Regions from separate parts of the Homo sapiens genome. Here all the other regions are linked to region 1. The links are contacts of gene promoters, found by promoter capture Hi-C in human tissues and cell types (Jung and others, 2019). All regions are on one chromosome and are shown on one strand. The core of a region is centred on a gene start or on the middle of the fragment in contact, and the rest is flanking DNA. Distances in the headings are between cores, read along the strand shown.

Region 1 (4,399 bases), core at 1,180-3,679:
CATGGACTGGGCACTGATCTTTTCCACACCCTGAACTGGACACTGGGGACACAGTTGTTAACAAGATGGGCACTTCCCTTGCTAAGTGACACTCAGTGTGGGAAATAGAAAATAACGGTATAAATGTATCCTATATTGGAGAGTGACAAGGACCAAGGAGAAAAATCAAGCCAGATGAAGATGGAGAGAATTTAACTGTAGGTTTAAAAATTAAAGGAAGCTGACACTTGCCTGTACTCCCAGCTACTTGGGAAGCTGAGGCGGGAGGATTGCTTGAGCCCACGAGTTCAAATCCAGCCTGGGCAACAGAGTGAGACTCTGTCTCTTAAAACTAACAAGGCCAGGTGGGGTGGCTCATGCCTGTAATCTTAGCACTTTGAGAGGCTGAGGTGGGAGGATCGCTTGAGCCCAGGAGTTCAAGACCAGCCTGGGCAGACATAGCCCGACCCTGTCTCTACAAAAAAGAAAAAAATCAGCAGGCGTGGTGGTAGAAGCCCGTGGTCCTAGCTACTCAGGAGGCTCAGGTGGAAGAATGGTTTGAGCCTGGGAAGTCGAGGCTGCAGAGAGCCGTGATCACGTAACTGCATTCCAGCCTAGGGGACAGAGCAAGACCACCCTGTCTCAAAAAACAAACAAAAAAAGAGAATGGGGACCAAGATCCAGCTGAAACCTCATACATGGAAGAACTTGAAGATGGGGAAACTGAGGGACCAGGATTAGGTGCTTATGGGAGAACACAGGTGCTGTTTCTGCCCCGGTACACAGTGGGCACCTTACTGATAAATGCCCAGTGTGTAAGTGAATGACTCCAGTCAGGAAAGAGATAGACGAGGTTGGGGCTGCTTTTCCAAGTACGGGAATCCAACCGAGCCGGGCGGGAGCCCTCCAGCTGGGACCCACCCAGATCTGCAGCTTGATCCTCTTGTCGTTGCGATAGATGGTCTTGACCTTGAAGTCGATGCCCACGGTGCTGACGAAGGCAGGCGTGAACGAGTCGTCAGCATAGCGGAAGAGGAAGGACGTCTTGCCCACGCTGCTGTTGCCGATGATGAGAATCTTGAACATGTAGTCGAAGTTCTGATCCGAGGACTCCTTCTGCCCATAGCGCGAGTCTGTGGCGGATGCCATCTGGGGATACCGGGTGTAGCAGAGCCGTGAGGGGGGCTCTCTCCATCCTCATGTGCCCAAGCCCAGGCAGAAGATGGCAAGGGCTCCAGAAAACGGCCGGTGTATGGAGGACACCCTTATCCCATCAGGAGCCCCAGTATTAATTGGTGGTGCCCCCAGCAGAGGGCAGCCTGTGACCTTGAAATCCTGGGCGTTTCAGAGGAGGGGCTCAGAGGGTTGCCGATGGGGACACCCCAGCAGCCCCCTTCAAGGGGCAGGTGCCCCAGGTGGGGCTGTAACCCTAAACCCAGGGCTGAGCCCGGAGGGGGTGACTGCGGCTGGCTCCGCCCCCCATCAATCTTTCATGGTCCTCAGAACCCGGCCGCGCGGCCCCACGTGCACCGCGTGCATGGTCCCTCGAGGACGCGCATCTGCAGCCCCCGCTCCCCGCAAACCTCCAGGCCGGAGAGCTCCGGCCAAGGCCGCTGCATCACATGATACAGGAGGGGCATGCACACGCTCACGTGCACACAGCCTCAAACACGCTCATCCGTACATACAGGAGTGTGTGAACGCACTGAGGTGCACAGGACAAAGACACAGACACCTGTTTGCACACCGACTCGCCTATAGAAATGTGCAAACCACCCGTGCGCACAGGCCCCTCCACCCATGCAGGCGTGTGCACATCACCCACACGGACACGGATCCCCGTGCTTGTATGCACGGGCCATACCTGCACAGGCGGTCCACACGTCTTTCTCCACGCGCGTGCAACGCTCACACACTTAGGCCCAGACCCCCACGGCGTCACACGAGCATATCCAGGTACACAAGCAAGGGTGCACACAGACCCGCTGACACAGGCAGGCGCGCACACGCGTGTGCACACCACGCGCACGCGCACGCAAAAGCCTCCCGCGCGCACAGCTTCCCGCAAGGAGCTCGGCTCCCCTCCCCCTCCGCCGCAGAGCAGGGGGGTTGGGGGGGTTAGTGGTGAGGATCAGGCAGGAGTGGGGCGCCCGGGCCCTACCCATTCCCAGCCTCGCGACCGCCGCATCCTTCCCCCCATTCAACCCTAGTCAACCTCGTCCCCCACCTCCATCAGCCCATCAGTCAAATGAAGGTTATGCAGGTGCTCGGAGCCTGAGCACACCCGGCCGCCCAGGAGCTCACCTTGCCCTGCACCGATGCAACGGCGACCCTAGCGGCGGTGACTTTTTTGGCGGTGGCGGTGACAGGACCCCGGTGCGTTGATGTGGGGCTGCGCGGCGGCGGCGGCAGCAGCGGCTCAGGCCCCTGCAGTCCTCCGTGACGTCCTGCAAAGGGAGGGGCGGAGCCTCACATGTAGATAAGTCCGTGACGCCATCCGGAGGCGGAGCCGCGCGTAGAGATGTGGCCCATTGACGCACGCAGAGCCAGATGGGGCAGGGCTCCTGAGCAGATTGACGTGCAAATGGGGCGGGGCCTAGCGTGTGCATCCAGTAGGGGCGGGAGCGGCGCGGGGGCCGACTCCGCCTCTCGTCCGCCTCCTGTCCGCCTCGGGGAGGCGGGGCCCCTCAGCGTTCTCTCACTGGCTTAAGCTCTCGAGCGACGGGCGAAGTAGCCAATCAGAGATTGTCTACGCCCTCCTCTTGTCCAATGGTGGCATCTGGGAGATTGAAGGGCCGAGAGGCTGAGGCCTTGGCTGAGCCCCGGTCTTCGAGGGGCGGTTCCCTTACCCGCCCGCACCCACCCCAGGTAGGGGACTCTTGAGGCCACCGTCTAGTCCAAGGTGCTGTGACCCCTGTTAAATGCCCCTGACTCCCAATTGCAGAAAAGAAAAATCGAGGCCCAAGAGATGTTTTATACCCTCACATATATGGGGTTCAAAATAAATACCAAAGAATAAACAGGAGTCAAGAGGGACCCCTGTCCCATTCCCGAGGCGTAAGACCCCCCCACTGAGGGAGGGGCTAGTAAAGACTCCACCCCTCCCCCGTTTCTGAGGTTTGAAAAGAAAGAAGTAGAGGTCAAGAGAGCCTCCCCTCCCCACCATTCCCAGAAAAGGAGGAAGGGGCTGATGGACTCTCTGGGAACCCCCTCCCCTCCCTGCGCCCCGTCATCAAGAAGAAAATTCGAAGAAAAGGTTTAGCAGGGACAGAGAAGCGACCTGTCCCGGAAACCCCTTAAAGCCTGCGGTAAATGCCCCGGGAAACAGGGAGGGCACGAGCCGAAGCCTCCAGCTCTTCAAAGCTCGGATTCAAAGACCCGGGGGCTGGGAGACCCCCTCCCTCCATCCTGGGAAAGCAAAACTCAGAGGATGGAGCCTTTTGGGAGCTAAGATGGTCCATCTTTTATTCCTCCAAATCTTTAGGGAAGGAAGTCAGAATTTGGGGAGGGAGGAGGAGCCCGAAACCCCAGCCCCCACTTTGGGTCTCCTGCTCCCCCTACTCCAGCTTTCAAACCCTCCAGGGGTGTGTGGCCCCCAGGAGAGTCCTGATCCCCTAGATTCTCCCCCCACCCCTCCCAGTAGGCGGGGCTGGAGCGTGTGTGTGTGGCGGGGGGTGACTCGTCCTGTTTATAAAAAGCTCGCCAGCTGCGGAGGCGCCGAGAGACCAGAATAACTTAGCGCCTCGAGGCCCAGCCGCCGCCAACCCAGTCCCCAGCCCGCCCCCAGTGCCCTGGGAGTACTGGGACGCCCACCCCCACGTCCCCGCACCGTTTACATTTGGGAAATTTATTTTTTCTTTTTAGGGTAACATGTTTGCTCCCTCCTCCCCCACTCGGACTATAGAAGTATCACCAATCCACTGCAGAGAAATTGGGAAAATTCAGAAAAACAAAAAATAAAAAGAAATCCACCTCCCATTCTCCCTGCCCTCCGCGCCCACGCGGTAGTCCGTGCTCTGTGGGGGGCTCCAGGGCAGCTGGTCCAGGCCCTGGCCTGCCGCCTCCTTGGAGGGGAGGTTTTTCGGTTGCTCAGCTCCCTGATCGCCCAAAGGCACGCTTCCTACATGGGTGGCTCTCTCGGAAATACCTCCTGCCTTTTTTCCCCAGGAAGAGAAAAGTGAGCCACGAGAATGTGCGGAAGCTTCCGTCACTGACTTAGTATTTTAAAGTAAAAATAGCCGGGTGCGGAGGCTTACGCCTGTAATCCCACCACTTTGGGAGACCAAGGCGGGAGGATCGCTTGAGCCCAGGAATTGGAAACCAGCCTGAGTAACATAGGGAGGCCCCATCTCTACAAAAAATTTAAAAATTAGCTGGATGTGGTGTCGCGTGCTTGTGGACCCAAATACTCCCGAGGCTG
Region 2 (4,399 bases), core at 586-3,085, 440 kb after region 1:
AGCTTCAGGCATTTGCATAAGAAGTGGTGGCTAGGCTGGGTGCTTTGGCTCACTCCTGTAATCCCAGCACTTTGGGAGCCCAAGGCAGGCAGATTACAAGGTCCAGAGTTTGAGACCAGCCTGGCCAACATAGTGAAACCCCCTCTCTACTAAAAATACAAAAATTAGTCAGGTGTGGTGGTGGGCGTCTTTAATCCCAGCAACTCTGGAGGTTGAGGCAGGAGAATCGCTTGAACCTGGGAGGAGGAGGTTGCAATGAGCCGAGATCCTGCCACTGCACTCCAGCCTGAGCGACAGAGTGAGACTCTGTATCAAAAAAAAAAAAAAAAGAAGTGATGGCTGGGACGTTGTGCCCAGGGGCTTTGCTGCCTGCTGAAAGTGTTTGCATGGAAAGTTGTGGCCGAGACGCTGCGCCCGGTGGGTTTGTCACAGTCAGTCTGGCTGGGTGGCCTTTGCCTGTTGAAGCTTTCTCCACAATCTAGATCATCTCCACCAAGCCCAGAGGCCTTGGAAGGGTCCAGCCCCCCAGCTCCTGCTAGGAAGACTTAGGGGAAGAGGTGGCTTCCCAAGGAGGTTCTTGCTACTTTGGGGAAGTTCTCATTCCTTTGGCCTCTTGCCCCTTTCTTTTTTATTATTATTAATTTTTTTTGACGTCACTCTGAGCTCAGGCTGGAGTGCAGTGGCATGATTTTGGCTCACTGCAACCTCCGCCTTCTGGGTTCAAGTGATTCTCCTGCCTCAGCCTCCCAAGTAGCTGGGACTACAGGCGCCCACTACCATGCCTGGCTAGTTTTTGTATTTTTAGGAGAGATGGGGTTTCATCATGTTGGCCAGGCTGGTCTCGAACTCCTGACCTCAGGTGATCCACCTGCCTTGGCCTCCCAAAGTGCTGGGATTACAGGCATGAGCCAGTGCGCCCGGCCTCATGCCCCTTTCAGAAGGAGGATTTTGACCCTTCCAAGACGTGGACTCAAGTCCTTCTCCTGGAAAATGTGGTCAGATATGGCGGCATGAGGTGTCTCATCATACCCATGGGTGACTGTGGCTCCCTCTTTATGGGTTGTGGCTGTGACAGATTCCTCATCTGGGAAATGGGGCTCCAGGCCCACCAGGTGGGGGGTGTCTGGGAGGAAACGAGTGGGGAGAGGTCACATGTACCTCATCAGTGTTACTGTGGCAGTGCTGACGCCCATGATGGGGACACTGCCATCCTTCTGCCCGCCATGCCCGCATGGGCCTTGAGGGGATCGTCAATGCCAGCAAGCCTTGATGTGGCGTGCGTGTGTCAGGCAGGGAAAGGAGAGGGTGAACTTGAGCCATTGGGAAGACAGTAGTGCCATGACTTGGGCCGTAAGAGGGACAGCAGCAGGGGCAGCGAGAGAGTAGAGCACGTCCAGCGTGAGCTGGAGAGGGCAGGTTCCGCCAGGAGTAGGCCTGGGAGCAGGAGCTCGGCAGGGCGGGGGCAGGGGCGGCGGGGGGTGGCGCGTCTCAGCAGGGATGGGGGCAGGTGGAACTGGGCCAGCCCAAGAAGGGCACTGGCCCACAGGCCGAGCCACATCCAGGCCACTCGATCTGCCCCTCACAGCTGAGCCCCTTCTCTGGGAAGGAGGCCACCCTCTCCTCCCCTCCTTGTCGGCAGGTCCCAAGAGCTCTGGGAGTGGAATTGCTCTGAAAGCACTCACTTCAACCTGAATCGTGCAGTGCGATCGTCACAGCTGGACTGTTTCCACCTGGTAGCTGTGACCCCCGGGACGGCCTCCTTGTCGTTGTCCGTAGTTACCGGGGAAGAAAGGCTTTATTACCCTCCGCCATAATCGCACCATCTCCAGGGAGCCCCTGCGAATGTCATCCCACCTCCCCCACGGCGATTACTTTTTATCTCACCCACCTCTCCTCAGACACTGTAAAAGGGAGGCTTTCTCCTCACTCCAGCCCTTTGGTTTTTTCCTTTTTCTGATATTTGTGTGTGTGTGTGTGTCTTACCCTTTGGTTTTAGGGAATGTTTTAGATTTGGTGTTAAGAGGCCCTGGAGGAGGAAGAGAGGAGGAGGAGGAAGAGTGGAGGAAGAGGAGGAGGAGATGAGAGGGAGGAGGAGGAAGAGGAGGAGGAGAAAAAGAGGAGGAAGAGGAGGAGGAAGAGAGGAGGAGGAGGAAAGAGAGAGGAGGAGAAAAAGAACAGGAGAATGGGGAGGGAGAGAGGAGGATGAGGGGGAAGGACACAGATAGAAATAATTCAGCGACTTGGGGCCTTGGATCCTGGAAGAAGGGGGTGGGATCTACTGAAGGCAAGGGGTGACTGGGCAGCATGTGTCCCGGCATCCCCAGCTCTTTGCTCTGTGGACAGGATTTGTTAGACACATTTCTCTGCCTTTGTGCAGGTGCCACAGTCTCCTGTGTCCACCCCATGCCTGGTGCTGGACATGAAGGGTCCATGGGACAGATGGACCCTGCCCATGGGGCGCATACATGCCAGCAGGAGTTAGAGAACGTCGTGCGGTCATTTCCGGGCTGGCTGGGCCAGGGGGCCAGGGCAGGGTTTGGGTGAGCGGCATATCAGTCAGCCTCCTGTTTTGAAAGGATCCCTCTGTAGGCCGGGTGTGGTGGCTCACACCTGTATTCCCAGCACATTGGGAGGCCAAGGCGGGTAGATCACTTGAGGTCAGGAGTTCGAGACCAGCCTGGGCAACATAGTGAGATCCAGTCTCTACTAAAAATACACAAAACTAGCTGGGCGCAGTGGCGGGTGCTTGTAGTCCCAGCTGCTCTGGAGGCTGAGGCACGAGAGTCGATTGAACCCAGGAGCCGAGATTGCACCACTGCACTCCAGCCTGGGCGACAAAGTGAGACTCTGTCTCAAAAAAGAAAGGATCCCTCTGGCAAGAGACAAGGGACCCTCGGCCAAGGTGGGCCCTGGAGGGATGGAGAGGCACACGCAGGCTTGGGGATGCCTGGAGGTTGAGCTTGTGCTGACTGATAGTGGTGGCCAGTTTCTGCCCTCCCCACCGGGCAGGCTGAAGGTCAGGGTTGTCCTTGGTCCCGCGCGGCTGCACTGCCTGCAACAAGCAGCAGACTTGGAGGCGCCACCTGGCCTAGGGGATTCGCAGCCCTTCCTGTGTTCCAGAAAAGCCCTTCATGCCTCTCCTTGCTCAGGGTTCGTGCCACTTGGAGCTCCCACAGTCCTTGAGGGCTTCAGGTCTTCCCACCAGCAGGTCCCAGTCCTGGGAATGTCCCTCCTCCTGAGAGAAGGCCTCAGTCTGGCTGCAGCTGCCCAGGAGGTCCTCAGGTAGCATCTCTTGTGGGTTCCACCTTCGAGCCACAGCCTGGAGCCAGCTCCTCCTGCTCTCTCCTCCCCATCCCAGCTCAGAGCCACTCCTGGCTCTTCCCCTTCTGGGCATCATCCCCAACTCCAGCCAGCGGGACCCTCCTAAGGCAGGAATCAGACCACCTCACTCCCCTGCCGGCCACCTGCCAGTGGCTCCCTCACTCTCAGAACAAAATCTACTTCTTGATGTGACCCGCTGGGCCCCTGAGCTTCCGCAGCTCTGACGGCTCTGCTGGGCTCTGAAGCACGCTCACTGGAATGTCCTGTCCCAGTGATTTGCACGGCTCAAGTGTTGTCTCCTCGGGGCCTGGCCACTGTGTCCACCGTGGCGCCACTGCTCGCCCTGTCGTCATGGTACATTCTCTGCTTGAGGACCCATGTCCCTGTAGAATGTACGTTCCCCAAGGGCAGGGCTTTATCAGATCTTTTTACAGTGGTGGTCCTGGCGCTGGCACAGCTACTGGCACGGGATGGATGCTTTTGAGTGTAGATCCAGTGAGTACCCCACCCCGAACAGTCTTCGATGCATACCAGAGGGGAAGCCTCCTGGCATAGCTCTGCATGCCCAGGCTGGCCGAGGGTCATCCGCCTCTTCCTCTTCACTTCATTGAACCAGCAGGGTGTGGGCGGAGAAGCAGAAATTCACAGGCATGTTGTCAGTAAACCAGCCCTGTTACCTGTTACAGAGCCCAGGGCACCATACCGTTTTGCGTGTGCTGTCTTTAGTGAGTGAGCAAAACCTCAGCCCTGCATGTTAAAGCAAAGGCGGCAAACGACAGCCGCTCTCTCCCTGTCCAGCTGTCTGAAGTGGAAGTGGGGGCCAAGCCCGCTGGGTTCCCGCTGCCGGCAGCCCCGCCCTCCTCCTCTGGTAGCCGCTCTGCAGCTGTGCGGACCAGCTCTCTTAACACTTGTTAACCCCAGCCTCCAGTCCCTTCCTGCCCCCCACCCCGCCCCTTCCACATGTCTCTCCGGAGAGGGCCGCACAGAATTCACAGGACTCGTCTCCAACGGCTGCGCCAGCAATTCCCTAGCATTCCTCCTCTGCAGAGTGGATTTTGGTGCATGTCCAGCGTGATTT
Region 3 (4,399 bases), core at 1,072-3,571, 300 kb after region 1:
CCTGATTGAAATCCATGACGCGTGGCTTGCTTTGCTAAATTTCCCCTACATTTTCTACAGAGCTCAGCATTCTTCAACTCCCATCTGAAATTGCCATGTACATCTCATCCCTGTCACGTTCATCTCTGCCTGGGAGGAAGGGGAAGTGGCTACAGACTCCAGAACCTGCAGCCTGGGTCCGGTCATCAGAGCAGTGATGCTCTCTGTCATTGGTCAGCAGAGGTTAGGCCCACCTGTCAGGCCTCAGAAGAGCCTGGCACCGCCCACAGGGTGGATCAACGGGTTAATAAGTCACAGCAGAAAACCTGAGGCTCGACTTTAAATAAACAGAACTCTCCCAGCTGCATCCCTGCCAAGGCCCGAGAGTGACACTGGCACATGAGCTATATCTCCCCCCACCAACACACCCCATGGGCTGTCATGAGAAACACTGCATATACCAGAACCCATTTACTCTGGGACACTCTCCACGGAGCCCTGCCACCACCTGTCCAGTGGACAGGGCCTGAGGGACACAAAGCCCCCACAGCCCTGAGCACCCGAGGAGCCACCTGGCCTGGGGATGTGTGATGCCTGCGCACAGGAGGCTCTCAGCCCACAGCTCCAGCAGAGGAAAAAACTCTTGCCTTGTGGAGACAACCCAGGCTTTGACTATTCTGGGCTGCCAGGGCTGTGGGAGCAGCAGGTCAAGGTTCAGGACATCTCACCCTCCTGCCATCATGGCCAAACCTCAGGCGACTGAGAACGATGGGCAACTTCTGTGTGCCAGAGGGCAGTGACATACCAGGACATCAGGGGAACACAAGCCACTGTCCCGTAGCCCCCACTCCTCTCCCATCCTCTCCTCCCCTCCCCTCTCCTCTGTGGTGTGCTTTCTTCTGCATCTGCCACAGCTCACCCAACAGCAAATGCAATCCCAACTAGTTAGGCTCTTGTTAGGACTGAAGATAGCTTTTGCTATTCTTCTCTACTCAATTCTTCATCCTAAGGATGCTGTGGCCAGTCACACCCTCCCACGGGCAAGGGCACCCGGCAATAAGCCCCAGCTACTGCCATTACTCATCCCACTTCCCAGGCAGGCAGGAAGGCAGGTGTGCAGAGCACTGGGCAGGGCCATAGTACCTGTGCCACACACACACATGCTCTTCACCTCATCCAGAGTTTCCTAGGTTTTGGTGCTTCAACAGCCCTCAGTAACGCAGGCTCCTTACTATGAGATAGCCTGGGAGAGAGCTGGGGTTTCTGTGATGGGAAAGGGCTAAGCCGGGAAAGGAAACAGTGTGTGACTGGCGCCTTGCAAGCCACCTAAGGCACCAGGCACACACAGGGGAGGGGAGAAGAGGACGGGAGAGGAGTGGGGGCCACGGGATGCGGCTTGTGTTCCCCTGATGTCCTGGGACACAGCTCCCTGAACCCCAAAACACCCCACGGACAGGAAAGCAAAGTAAGGAGAGGTGAATGTGAGTTGCAGGAGGGGCTGCAGGCACTGACCTGACCTCCCACCCACAGGATGACCCCACACAGCAGAGGGAGAAACTGAGGCCCAGAGGGTGGCACCACTGTACAGTCAGGTACCCCCACCCTGTGTCCTGCTCTGTACTACACAGACCACCCAGCACACATGTGGCCAATACCAGTGAGGCAAAGGTGGCAGCCTGGGCCCCCCATGCTGGCCCTCAGCCATCCCTGGGACAACAGTCTAGACACCCAGAAGCTCTGCACCTAGGCCCACTGACCCAGCCTCCCTCCAAGCCCTGGGTGCCCATGTGTGCCCAGGCTGCTGCCCCTGGCACTCAGGCCATGCCACACGCAGCAGCTGGGTCTGAAGCCTGGCTTGGAACCAGCCCCCCACAGTCAACATGGAGACAGCCCTGCTGGCACCGCCCCAGGCCTGGGCCCTGTCTCCCGCACCCTCCAGCGACCTGCCTGGGCCACCCTCAAGGTGCGCCTGCTCCTAAGCCGCCTCCCACAGTGGAGGGACACCCGGGCTGCTTCAGAGCAGACTGTGGCAAGTTACCCTCTCCCCCAGGGGGAAAGGGATCCAAAGCTCCTGTGCCTCTGGGGTGCAGCATCAGCCCAGACTTCTGCTCGGCTGGGTGCCATGGCTCACGCCTGTAAGCCCAGCACATTGGGAGGCCAAGGCAGGAAGTTCGTTTGAGGTCAGGGGTTTGAGACCAGGCTGAGCAACACAGGGAGACTCTGTCTCCATATAAATAAAAAATTAGCCAGGTGTGGTGCCACGCACTTGTAGTCCCAGCTATTTGGGAGGCTGAGGTAGGAGGATCACTTGAGCCCGGGAGCCAAGGCTGCAGTGAGCTATGATCACACCACTGCACCCCAGCCTGGATGACAGAGCAAGACCTCGTCTGAAAAAACAAAAGCAGACTTCCGTTCAACAGCATGTGAACCTCACCTTGCACACCTAGGAGTTCGTTACCCTCCTCAGCTCAGAGATTAGAGGGAACTCTCCCCACAGAGATGCTATGATCAGAGGGCCAGGGACCCTGTCTCATTGATCCTACGCTCTACGCCAGACATCGCCTCAGAATCCTTCTCAACACGGCTCCACTTCCTATCTACAAGGAGCTGGCCTACAAGATGGAAGCGATTCCTACATTATGGGGTCATGTGGCTCCAGGCACATGGCCCTCGACCAGTGGGAGCCTGTGCACAGGTAAGAGAGCCAGGGCAGCCTGGAGATGAGCTGGACACAGGCTGCCAGCACTGGCTGTCCCCTCCCACTTGCCAAATCCAGTGTGAGCTGAGCACATTTCACTGGAACAAGCAGGCGTCTGAGAGCATCCAACTCCAAAAATAGTGCCACCAGGAGAGGAAGGAACACGCTCTTCTAGCTGCACCCGCTCCCTGCCCTCAGATACCTCCCTGCACAGTCTGTGCCTGGCCTGTGGCAGTTCAAGGGTCACACCCAACTCTGAAAAGGGAGAGATAACATCCCCAGATAAGAAGAGTGAAAACAGGCCAAGTCTGCTGCCAGAGCCTGGCCACAGACCCACAGCCCCTTGGCAGAGAACTGCTCAGGAAGTCCTCCTCTGAGTCTTTCAAGCCACTGGTATCTAACAAAGAATCTAATCTGCACACGGCACTTGCCCCGAGCTAAGAAAGTTCTGGAAGGGTCTCCTAGGTCTCCCCAGCCCAAGGTGAGCTTGCTTCTGTGGAGGGAGATGCCTGCCTGCCCATGTCCACCACCACTGCACACCAAGCCAGTCTGAAGCCACCATGATCTGGCTGTTGCTGGTTTATGGTGCACCTCCCCGCTGCGAAGAAGTGGGCCATGTGAGCGCAGGGGCTTCATCCCTCCTGCTTCTTACTGGAGAAACACTCCTGGAGGCAGCCGAACCCTCACTGGGTGCAATCCCTCTGTGTAGGAGATTGCACTGTGTAGGTTGTGCCCCGCCGAACAACCACGCAGCTGAGGCTCAGCTCAGAGACTGCATTCAGAGCCCAACTAGAATCAGACACAGGTTCTGCGGGCCCCACTACCCATCTGGAGGCAGACGCCTGACCCCCAGCTCCATCCCCAGAGATGAGGATGCAGCAGGCTGAGGCTGACTCCATGCGGCAGCTGCTCCCAACTCCACAAGGGACACACAAGCCAGCCCTTCCCATCCAGGCTGCACATGACTGTGTTTTGTTTCAAAGGTCACATACAGGTCACAAATAAAGAGGCCGGTTCCCACTGGAGGCTATGTCAGGATTGATGCAGTCCCTGAGAAAAACTCCCGGAAAACCCAGGGACTCCCATGCGGGCTGAGAAACATTTTGAGTTTGCATGAGATCAAAATAGGAGTCACAGCTGAGTGTGGTGGCTCACGCCTATAGCACTTTGGGAGGCCAAGGCGGGAGGATCACTTGAGGCCAGGAGTTAACAGACTGCAGTGAGCTATGATCACACCACTCCACTCCAGCCTGGACAGCACAGCAAGACCCTCTCTCTAAAAAATAAAAACAAAAATAGAATAAAATAAAATACAATACAAGAGTCAGCAGCCAGGAGGGTAGCCTGTCCCAGAGTGGATGCCCTCAGGTTCAAGGTTTGACATCATCTGCACTAACTGTGTGATCTCAAGTTAGCCATTATCTTCTAGATGTCCCATTAGTGAAATAAAGGGGCCAGAACAAAAGGACCCTCCAAAGTCTCAACTGGCCCTGGCCAACAGCAAGGCTTCACAGGGCTGCCTGGCACTGCACAGGGGCCTGGGAGCCCAAGGCCCGAGCCTGGCCCCACGACAGTGGTTCCATTAACACACCAACTCTTCCTGCCACACACCCAGCTGGACACCCTAGACCAGCGGCCAGCAAGCTTCTTTTATGAAGGGCCAAAGAGTTGGTATTTCAGGCTTTGTGAGCTAGACAGTTGCAGCCTTGGCTGCCGTCACAG

The links. Contacts are between HindIII fragments. The study calls those that stand out against the background at their distance.
Region 2: a contact is called between a fragment that was not itself captured here and the fragment with the promoter of RAB3A in region 1, in 1 of the 25 tissues and cell types used here (dorsolateral prefrontal cortex).
Region 3: a fragment that was not itself captured here is called in contact with the fragment with the promoter of RAB3A in region 1 in 2 of the 25 tissues and cell types used here (dorsolateral prefrontal cortex and spleen).

Annotation. Positions count from the first base shown.
Region 1 is chr19:18,201,613-18,206,011 of GRCh38, forward strand. It overlaps RAB3A (RAB3A, member RAS oncogene family), which reads right to left and starts at 2,430. Exons shown (of 5, transcript NM_002866.5): 1 at 2,284-2,430; 2 at 901-1,128. The coding sequence starts at 1,128. LOC102725254 (a long non-coding RNA gene) reads left to right here and starts at 3,118. Exons shown (of 2, transcript NR_134910.1): 1 at 3,118-3,287; 2 at 3,844-3,951. RefSeq lists enhancers at 1,672-2,454, 2,487-2,781, 2,967-3,066 and silencers at 2,447-2,836, 3,722-3,781. The HindIII fragment of the contact is 10,728 bases long and covers 1-4,399 here.
Region 2 is chr19:18,645,499-18,649,897 of GRCh38, forward strand. All of the region lies in intron 1 of KLHL26 (kelch like family member 26), which reads left to right. Among named protein-coding and RNA genes, the nearest start is that of KLHL26, 11 kb to the left of the region's middle. RefSeq lists enhancers at 2,596-3,406, 3,407-4,217. The HindIII fragment of the contact is 9,166 bases long and covers 1-4,399 here.
Region 3 is chr19:18,504,355-18,508,753 of GRCh38, forward strand. The region is part of intron 1 of ELL (elongation factor for RNA polymerase II); the gene reads right to left. Among named protein-coding and RNA genes, the nearest start is that of ELL, 16 kb to the right of the region's middle. RefSeq lists enhancers at 279-328, 3,067-3,908. The HindIII fragment of the contact is 5,227 bases long and covers 1-4,399 here.